Linked DNA regions of Homo sapiens: region 2 is linked to region 1. Evidence: promoter capture Hi-C in 16 types of primary human blood cells and fetal thymus (Javierre and others, 2016). All regions are on one chromosome and are shown on one strand. Each heading gives the region's core, a stretch centred on a gene start or on the middle of the fragment in contact. The rest is flanking DNA. Distances are from core to core; before and after follow the strand shown. Region 1 holds the start of SIRT1 (sirtuin 1). Region 2 overlaps HERC4 (HECT and RLD domain containing E3 ubiquitin protein ligase 4).

The links. The method cuts DNA at HindIII sites, captures the fragments that hold promoters and counts their contacts. A CHiCAGO score of 5 or more calls a contact.
Region 2: a contact is called between a fragment that was not itself captured here and the fragment with the promoter of SIRT1 in region 1, in 1 of 17 cell types (M1 macrophages). The highest score is 6.4, in M1 macrophages.

What each region holds. Positions count from the first base shown.
Region 1 is chr10:67,881,474-67,886,010 of GRCh38, forward strand. SIRT1 (sirtuin 1) reads left to right here and starts at 3,183. Exons shown (of 9, transcript NM_012238.5): 1 at 3,183-3,678. The coding sequence starts at 3,249. RefSeq lists promoters at 863-3,248, 2,219-3,250, 3,038-3,249, 3,076-3,251, enhancers at 2,699-2,758, 2,779-2,938 and silencers at 3,019-3,558, 3,059-3,243, 3,678-3,972, 3,769-3,888. The HindIII fragment of the contact is 7,021 bases long and covers 1,022-4,537 here.
Region 2 is chr10:67,955,054-67,959,455 of GRCh38, forward strand. HERC4 (HECT and RLD domain containing E3 ubiquitin protein ligase 4) reads right to left here. Exons shown (of 25, transcript NM_015601.4): 17 at 1,825-1,923; 18 at 1-77. Among named protein-coding and RNA genes, the nearest start is that of SIRT1, 73 kb to the left of the region's middle. The HindIII fragment of the contact is 3,653 bases long and covers 1,094-4,402 here.

The DNA.
Region 1 (4,537 bases), core at 1,933-4,432:
AACATTTTATTAGTACAAAAGAGTTGATACTAACTCCCTTACTAATTGTAGTCACATGAGACTGATATCAGAGCTATTAGGCCAATTTATTTTTTTATTTATTCATTTTTTATTTATTCTTATTTTTATTTTTTTTGCGATGGAGTCTCACTCTGTCGCCCAGGCCAGAGTGCAGTGGCGCGATCCCGGCTCACTGCAAGCTCCGCCTCCTGGGTTCACGCCATTCTCCTGCCTCAACCTCCCGAGTAGCTGGGACTACAGGCGCCCGCCACCACACCCGGCTAATTTTTTGTATTTTTAGTAGACACGGGGTTTCACCGTGTTAGCCAGGATGGTCTTGATCTCCTGACCTCGTGATCCACCCGCCTCGACCTCCCAAAGTGCTGGGATTACAGGCGTCAGCCACCGTGCTTGGCAGGCCAATTTATTAACTTAGGAGAATAGAACTACTAAGTCAGCCAGAATATTAATGTTCTTTTTTTTTTTTTTTTTTTTTTGAGACAGAGTTTCACTCTTGTTGCCCAGGCTGGAGTGCAATGGCACTGTCTCAGGTCACTGCAACCTCCACCTCCTGAGTTCAAGCGATTCTCCCGTCTCAGCCTCCCGAGTAGCTGGGATTACAGGCGCATGCCACCACTCTGGGCTAATTTTTGTATTTTTAGTGGAGACGGGGTTACATCATACTGGTCAGGCTGGTCTCGAACTCCTGACATCAGGTGATCCGCCCGCCTTGGCCTCCCAAAGTGCTGGGATTTATAGGCGTGAGCCACAGCGCCTAGCCTTAATGTTAGTTCTTAACCAGTGGTAGACCAGAAGTCTAATTGGGATTTTTTGTTTTTGTGTTTGTTGTAATACAATTTCTGTTTCTCATTTATCCTACCTGAAAAGCATACTGCATCTCTGACCTCTCAGCATACTAACAATAATATTGATCACATAGCATTTCTTGTAGTTCATAAACTTCACGTGTCAATAATATACTATAAATATAAATGAATTAATGAACAACAGGATGCTCATAAGCTTACAGACATCTTTTTCTCAAAAAAGCTGGGAATTTTGTTTCTGTTTTATTGGGATACTGACTCTCAACATTTCATATATTGCATTCCACCAACGTAGCTGAGAGTCAATTTATGAAATATTTTGTAGTGTAAGACAGAAAGTGGGGAGGACCAAGTATGTCAACCACTAGGAGTGTGGTGCCTAGTCAGGAATTGGGAGGAGTGTAGCAAGAAAGGAAGGACAACAGGATTTGGTCATTGATTGGTCAGATGGATTTCAGAGGGATTGGTATGAAGGAACGCTTCAAAGATTTTTTTTTTAATTTAAGTTCCAGGATACAGGTGCAGAATGTGTAGGTTTGTTACATACTTATAGGTGAGCCATGGTGGTTTGCTGCACCAATCAACCCCTCATCTAGGTTTTATTTATATTTTTTTTTGAGACGGAGTTTCGCTCTTGCTGCCCAGGCTGGTGTGCAATGGTGCGATCTCGGCTCACCGCAACCTCTGCCTGCTGGGTTCAAGCGATTCTCCTGCCTCAGCCTTCTGAGTAGCTGGGATTACAGGCATGTGCCACCACGCCCGGCTAATTTTGTATTTTTAGTAGAGACGGGGTTTCTCCATGTTGGTCAGGCTGGTCTCGAACTTCCGACTTCAGGTGATCTGTCCGCCTCGGCCTCCCAAAGTGCTGGGATTACAGGCAGCAGCCACCGCGCCCAGCCAGGTTTTAAGTCCCGCATGCATTAGCTATTTGTCCTAATGCTCTCCCTCCCCTTGACCCCCACGCAACCAAAGATGGTTTTAAGGCTTCTAGGACTGGAGATGATTACTTTCAGAAATGAATAGTGGTGACCAGATGAAATAAGACTTTTGGATGTAGATAGGACCTTAGCGATATATTTCCAGCTTTTTATTTTTTATTTTAAGGATGAAGAAACAGCTTTAAGTTGGTTGCCTAAAGTCACGCAGGTAATTGATGCAGTATGGCCAGAACCCATACTAGGCTTAAGGGACAGTGTACCATAAACTCGTAGAGGTCCTTTAAACAGATAGAAACGCTGTGCTCCAGGCAGATGCCATAACAAACACTGGCTCTAGATCTACCATGGGTTATATGGGTCCTTAGTTAAGATTAGATATGGAGTCACAGTGTGCCAGAATTTCAGGGAGAGAGGAAAGTGGAAGGGCTTTCCACTAAGCCTTTTGAACTACTAGGTACCCCTCGTTTTACATCTGGTTATCTCATTTAAATCTATGACGTTTTAAAATACTTATTACCATTTAAGACATGAGAAAAATTAAGTTTAGAAACGGCTAGATAGCTCACGCTAGAAAGGAAGGACTCCAAATTTTAACCAAGGGCAGATGTGCATGGAGGCCAAGTCATTTCCTTCCCATGCTCTCATACTGACCCAACAAACCCATTCTGCACGTGAGAAAACTGAGGCCCGGAGGAGGGAATTCACACACGTTTGAAGCCAAGCTGGGGCCAGAAAGTAGATCGGCTGATCTCCAAACCTCCACGTCAAAGGTCTTCCCAGGAGGACATATGCCTTCAAGGATTTTACAATGTATACCACCCTACAAGTGATGGGAGAGAGGGGAAAAAAGCAACCGACTAAGGAGAAAAGCAAGGAGCAGAAAAAGGAGCAAAAGAGGAGCTGTCAGAACGGTGTGAGGAGAGTGGGAAAGGAGCCGCCTCCTTTTGCCTCTCTTCCTACTTATTAACAAAACAGAACGACTATCCAACGTATTTCAGGGAGCTAAGTCTTAGCCAGCTTCAGCTGTGTTTTAACCCTTAGCTAAATATAGACAAGGCTAAGGCAGGCCAGGTGTACACTTCAGGAAGACGTGGAAATTCCCAGGGCGGACCAAAACTTGAGCTGTTCCGGCGGTAGTGATTTGAGGTCAGTTTGAAAGAGAAGTTGAGAAAGCGGCCGAGGGGCGAATTTGGCTGCACTACACGCTCGCCACAAAGAGGAAGGGCCGCCGGCCGCCGGGGCCGAGTGCGCTTCCAGCCCAGGCGGAGCGGTAGACGCAACAGCCTCCGCCCGCCACGTGACCCGTAGTGTTGTGGTCTGGCCCGCGTGGGTGGCGGGAGCGCCGAGAGGGCGGGGGCGGCGATGGGGCGGGTCACGTGATGGGGTTTAAATCTCCCGCAGCCGGAGCCGCGGGGGCGCCAGTGCCGCGCGTCGAGCGGGAGCAGAGGAGGCGAGGGAGGAGGGCCAGAGAGGCAGTTGGAAGATGGCGGACGAGGCGGCCCTCGCCCTTCAGCCCGGCGGCTCCCCCTCGGCGGCGGGGGCCGACAGGGAGGCCGCGTCGTCCCCCGCCGGGGAGCCGCTCCGCAAGAGGCCGCGGAGAGATGGTCCCGGCCTCGAGCGGAGCCCGGGCGAGCCCGGTGGGGCGGCCCCAGAGCGTGAGGTGCCGGCGGCGGCCAGGGGCTGCCCGGGTGCGGCGGCGGCGGCGCTGTGGCGGGAGGCGGAGGCAGAGGCGGCGGCGGCAGGCGGGGAGCAAGAGGCCCAGGCGACTGCGGCGGCTGGGGAAGGAGACAATGGGCCGGGCCTGCAGGGCCCATCTCGGGAGCCACCGCTGGCCGACAACTTGTACGACGAAGACGACGACGACGAGGGCGAGGAGGAGGAAGAGGCGGCGGCGGCGGCGATTGGGTACCGAGGTGCGCAGGGTGCGGGCGGCCGGAACTGCGCATCTCCTCCTCCCTCTCCCCGGGCTCCTACTGGCCTGAGGTTGAGGGCGGCTGGGGGCTCGGGGCAGGCTCCGCGGCGTTCCCCTCCCCACCCCGGCCCTCCGTTCAGCCGCGCTCCTCCGGGGCTGCGGTTCCTACTGCGCGAGCTGCCAGTGGATTCGCTCTTTTCCTCCGTCCGTGGCCCGCCTGGGCGGCCTTGTTCTTTCCGCAGCAGCCAGGTCGGGAGACTCTCGCAGTCGCTTTAAAATAAGTTTCTCTCCCCCTCTTACTCTTTTAGCATATTGCTTTTGTTAGAGCTTTTTTTTTCTTTTTCTTTATTTTTTATTTTCATTGCTTTTCTCCTCTACCCCCCAGCACACTTAAGTCTGCAACTTTTTGGCTGTCCCGTTGGTCTGCGTTTTCAATTGCTTTTTGCAAACTTGACACCTGTGCAGTTTGCTTTTTTTGGTCTATATTTTTATGACTGAAATTACAATTTTTGAAAGAGGAAAGCTGTTTCTATAGTCACAGCTTGCAAAATTTAAAGAACGTGGCTGTTCCTGAAGACATTACCATTCTGTAATGCAGTTAGGAGTGGGTATGGGAGAGAGAGTACTTTTAGAGCTGTTCATATTACTTTTATTCTAATCTTGCTCTTGTGCGGTAATGGTGTTTGGGCTAAACATGCTTTTTTTGTATGTATGTAGTATTGAGACACAAACTTAACACTTCTAGCATAATGAAGCAGATATGTTGCAGTTGTCATGTTCTTGAAGGTTTCTTTTTTTTTTTTTTTTTTTTTTTGAGACGGAGTCTCGCTCTGTCGCTAGGCTGGAGTGCAGTGGCGCGA
Region 2 (4,402 bases), core at 1,670-4,169, 73 kb after region 1:
AAGCAGGGATTCACAGATTCAATCACTGGGAGAAAAAGAGAGGAGACATTCTGCCTGTGGGCCTGATCAATAGCCATCTGGAAAACAAAAGATTAACATTTTAACAGCAATGCTACAATAAAGCTACTGTGACTGAAACAAGCTAACCTCTACCTATTAGTTACAGGTATTCTATAATTCCTATGCTACTGAATTAACATAGCACCTAACAGTATCCCGTACAGCATAAAACTTAATAAACTGAGCATAAAGAGTACCCTTTTGAATGTTTTTATACTAATGTATAATGTATAACTCATAACACCATTAGAGTAAGCCAGTACAGAACGGTAGTAATACTGATAAATCTGAGCATTGGTTTTTCTAAAAAACATTCACTGGAGGGGAGGGTAAAGAGGGAGGAGCAAAAACAAACCTTTAAAGAGTATAAGGAACAGGCTGGGCGCAGTGGCTCACGCCTGTAATCCCAGCACTTCGGGAGGCCAATGAGGGCAGATTACTTGAGGTCAGGAGTTCAAGACCAGCCTGGCCAACATGGTGAAATCCTGTCTCTACTAAAAATGCAAAATTAGCAGGGCGTGGTGGTGTGTGCCTGTAATCCCAGCTACTCAGGAGGCTGAGGCAGGAGAATCACTTGAACCTGGAAGGCAGAGGTTCCAGTGAGCTGAGACTGTACCACTGCACTACAGCCTGGGCGACAAGAGCGAAACTCCGTCTCAAAAATAAAAAATAAAAAACAAAGAATAAGGAATGATCTGGCTAAGGAAGCATTACACAAATTCACTTAACTAAGTGATCATGGTATGTGCTCACGAACCAAGGATTTGACTTTTACCATTTAAAACTTTTGTTCTTTTATTATGGTTCTCCCTGAGTTCTTGTTCTAAAATGGAATATCCCATGGTAAAATCACCAAGTTATTAACTTATCGTTTTAACAAAGACCTCCAAAAAATTGGCTTACTAGCTGTTAGTATAGAACACTACAAAAATATTTAGAATACCAAATGCATTTATTTGAACAGAATAAAAATGGTTACCAAGATTTGAAGGTTTTTAATTTTTTAAAATATTTTTAGACTATTAAATATTCAAGCTTTCTTTTCATCCTTTCCTTAATCCTTAGTTGGTATAGTCAGATATTCTATACCAGAGGAAGCAGCTCAAAATCTTTTTTATTTACAGGATCAAATGATAAAGCAAACTTACTGTAACCCTTTAAAGTCATAATATGAATTAGTTTAAAAAATCCTCTCTATAAATGAAAGAACTCTCAACATAAAATGGATGGGAAAGGGTGATAGGAAGGGGAAAAGAAAGAGGAATAGGAGATAATGGTGACCAACCCCAGGAACATGTTTAATACCTTATTATTGAAACTTTCTTCAAGGAAATTTCACATCTTCTTCCTAACGAGATCAAATGCTTCCTACTTTTAACATCTCTCACCTCTAGTGACTTCCATCTCTTACCAAGCATATAAAAAGGGGACATATAATGAAACAAGATTTTGAAACAAACCAACATCTTATCAAGTAAACTAGTAAAACGGTTTATAAAGATTGAATATTTCTGTAATGAAAGAGGCTTATACAATTTTTAATATATAAAATGATTATAGGTTAAGTTATTCCATTTTCACTGCAACCTTTTTTTATAAATGTTCTCATAAGAATATACATATCACATGCAGCAGTCTTCTTTATAGCTACCCAAAGTACTTTGTGTACCTTCATTACTGATCCTAGGAAAATTTCAAATATTTACTGTCCAGAAACATCAAAGAAACAATTAAAAAAAAAAACCCTCTCAAATAATATTTTACCTGCATCTGTAAGACTGCATCGGTCTGTAACAGAGTAGTTTTTGCTTGGGCATCAAATACAAATGGATATGTACAGATTGTAACAGGGATATCTGCCAACTGGAAATAAAAAATTAACTTATTAGTACAAGTTGATTTGTGATATACTTACTGTGGATGCTGACATTTCTTATAAAGTGGACTACATTCTTTGTTTATTCACTCATGTGGTTCTGGAATTACAAATAAAACATGCTGCTTACAGAATTATTAAAAATTAAATGAGGCATTGGAATGAACCCAATTCCCAATTTTAGGGGGCGACTGTATACTTGAGAGTCTATACAATCATATACTGCAAGTATCTTTTGCTTAGCATATGTTAATTGCAAATCTCAGTGAATGAGGTTGCAAATTTGTTCTAAAATTGGGGGCTCCTATGTTAAATGCGATAGCCAATTCTTACATGTTAGGGCAACTGCAGCAACTGAGGCTAATGATAAGTAATCTGTCTATTCCTTCATTTAACAGATATTGAGTATAATGTCATTAGGGTATCAAAATTATTATGAGTCCAATAATCTCTTCATTTACTTAATATACAAAAAAGTACCATTAGTATTACTATTCTGTTAGCCTTTAAAGTTACGAGAACTGATCTATTATTATCATTATTAGACATTAGACACTTTATAGACAATTACTTATCCTGGCAGGTAATATATTGATTGCTAAGTATTTTAATAGTGCAGTAAAATATAAAGAGTTATGAATTGCCAGTCACACATTCTTGTAGTTGGAGGACGACCTACTTCTACCATCTACCCAGTAAAACAATATCTTTGTGCCTGCCCTGACTCAGAGCCCCTGCTATGAGACTTCTAATGAAGAATTAATACACCCTAAAACAATCCACTTCTTAGTGATTAGACAGTTCTTTATAGTCTGAATCTGCATTTTTTTTTCCCCCATACAGAGTCTTGCACTGATGCCGGGGCTGGAGTGCAATGGTGCGATCTAGGCTCACGGCAACCTTCGCCTCTGGGGTTCAAGCGATTCTCCTGCCTCAGCCTCCCGAGTAGCTGGGATTACAGGTGCCTGTCACCACACCCGGCTAATTTTTTGTATTTTTAGTAGAGATGGGGTTTCACTAGGTTGGCCAGGCTAGTCTTGAACTCCTGACCTCATGATCCGCCCACCTCGGCCTCCCAAAGTGCTGGGATTACAGGCGTGAGCCACTGTGCCCAGCCTGAATCTGCATTTCTATATATCACTATGCATCATTTAGTCTTTGCTTTGCCCCTGCTGGGAAGTGTACGTAGTTTAAATATTTTAAGTCCTAATCATGCTCTCCCTAAATTGTATTTTATTACATTCTAAACATTCACTCTTCAGTATTTTTCATGTGACAAGGTTTACCTCCATCCTATATTTGTGGCACTGCCTAGCTAATGATCATAAAAACTAATTTTACTTCTCTGAAATTCAAAAAGATTTAGATATCTCCAAAGCACCCTTTGGCTTCAAAACTCTATGTTTTCATAATTTTATGTGCTAATTCTATTTGACAATGAGGAAGCAAACAATATTAGAGCTATAATTTAAAGCTAACTCAAAATGCTTCATTGGTTCAAGTGCTGGGAAAAACATAGCAACCAACAAAATGCAAATCAAAGCAAAACCTGACATCTATAACGGATAAAGAAAGTATTATAATGTTCCCAAGTGTTAAAAGGGTAGTCTAGGGTTGTTGATTACTTAAACCAAAGTGCTAGAACTTTATATATTAGAAGTGAGAAAGATAATCATACAAAAAGTTTAACTTTGTGACCATTCTGAGTATCAATTAATCAATTTTAAAAATGAAGTTTGTTTTACTTCTCTAATATAAAATGTTTTCAGCCACATTAGGTAGGCATTTGCTAAATTTTAAAATAAAAGTTTGCTTTTTTATATTCTGAGGACACATTACATTTTATACTGGAAGACTTGAGGAGGACAGAAACTATTCTAAAGCAAATATTGTTGAGGCATCATATAGGTGTAATGTTAACAGAATTTCATTTTCTTCAGAAAACTTCTGAAATGTTATACAAGATAATCTCTACAGACTGTATTTTAAAAAATGATACATATATATCTATTTATTTACATTTTTTAACCACACCAAAAAAACGAATCTTTGGCTCTTCTATTACTCAGGAGAAAATGGAGTATATTTTACTCTAAACATGAGCTTTATTACACCAAACTTACCTCAGTTAATCCATGGTTGACATCCTAAGACAGCAGTGCAGAATATAACAATAACGAGGAAAGAGCAATATTAGTGTCCAAATTTAACTATTTCTATTCAAGGTAGCATTTCATATATTTTGCTACAGCAGAATATTGAAGTAATGAGGTAGAAAATACATCTACAATCAAATACACCCCCTACACAAGCATCTTATATATCTACTAATGTAAGATCTTTGTTTCAGGTACCTTGTGATCATAAAATGATTGAGGCTTGAACATAATGAAATTTGTTTTCAGCAATTAAACACCCCCATTTGCAGAATTTAGGCAGAATAAGAAAACTAATCCTATGCCTGGC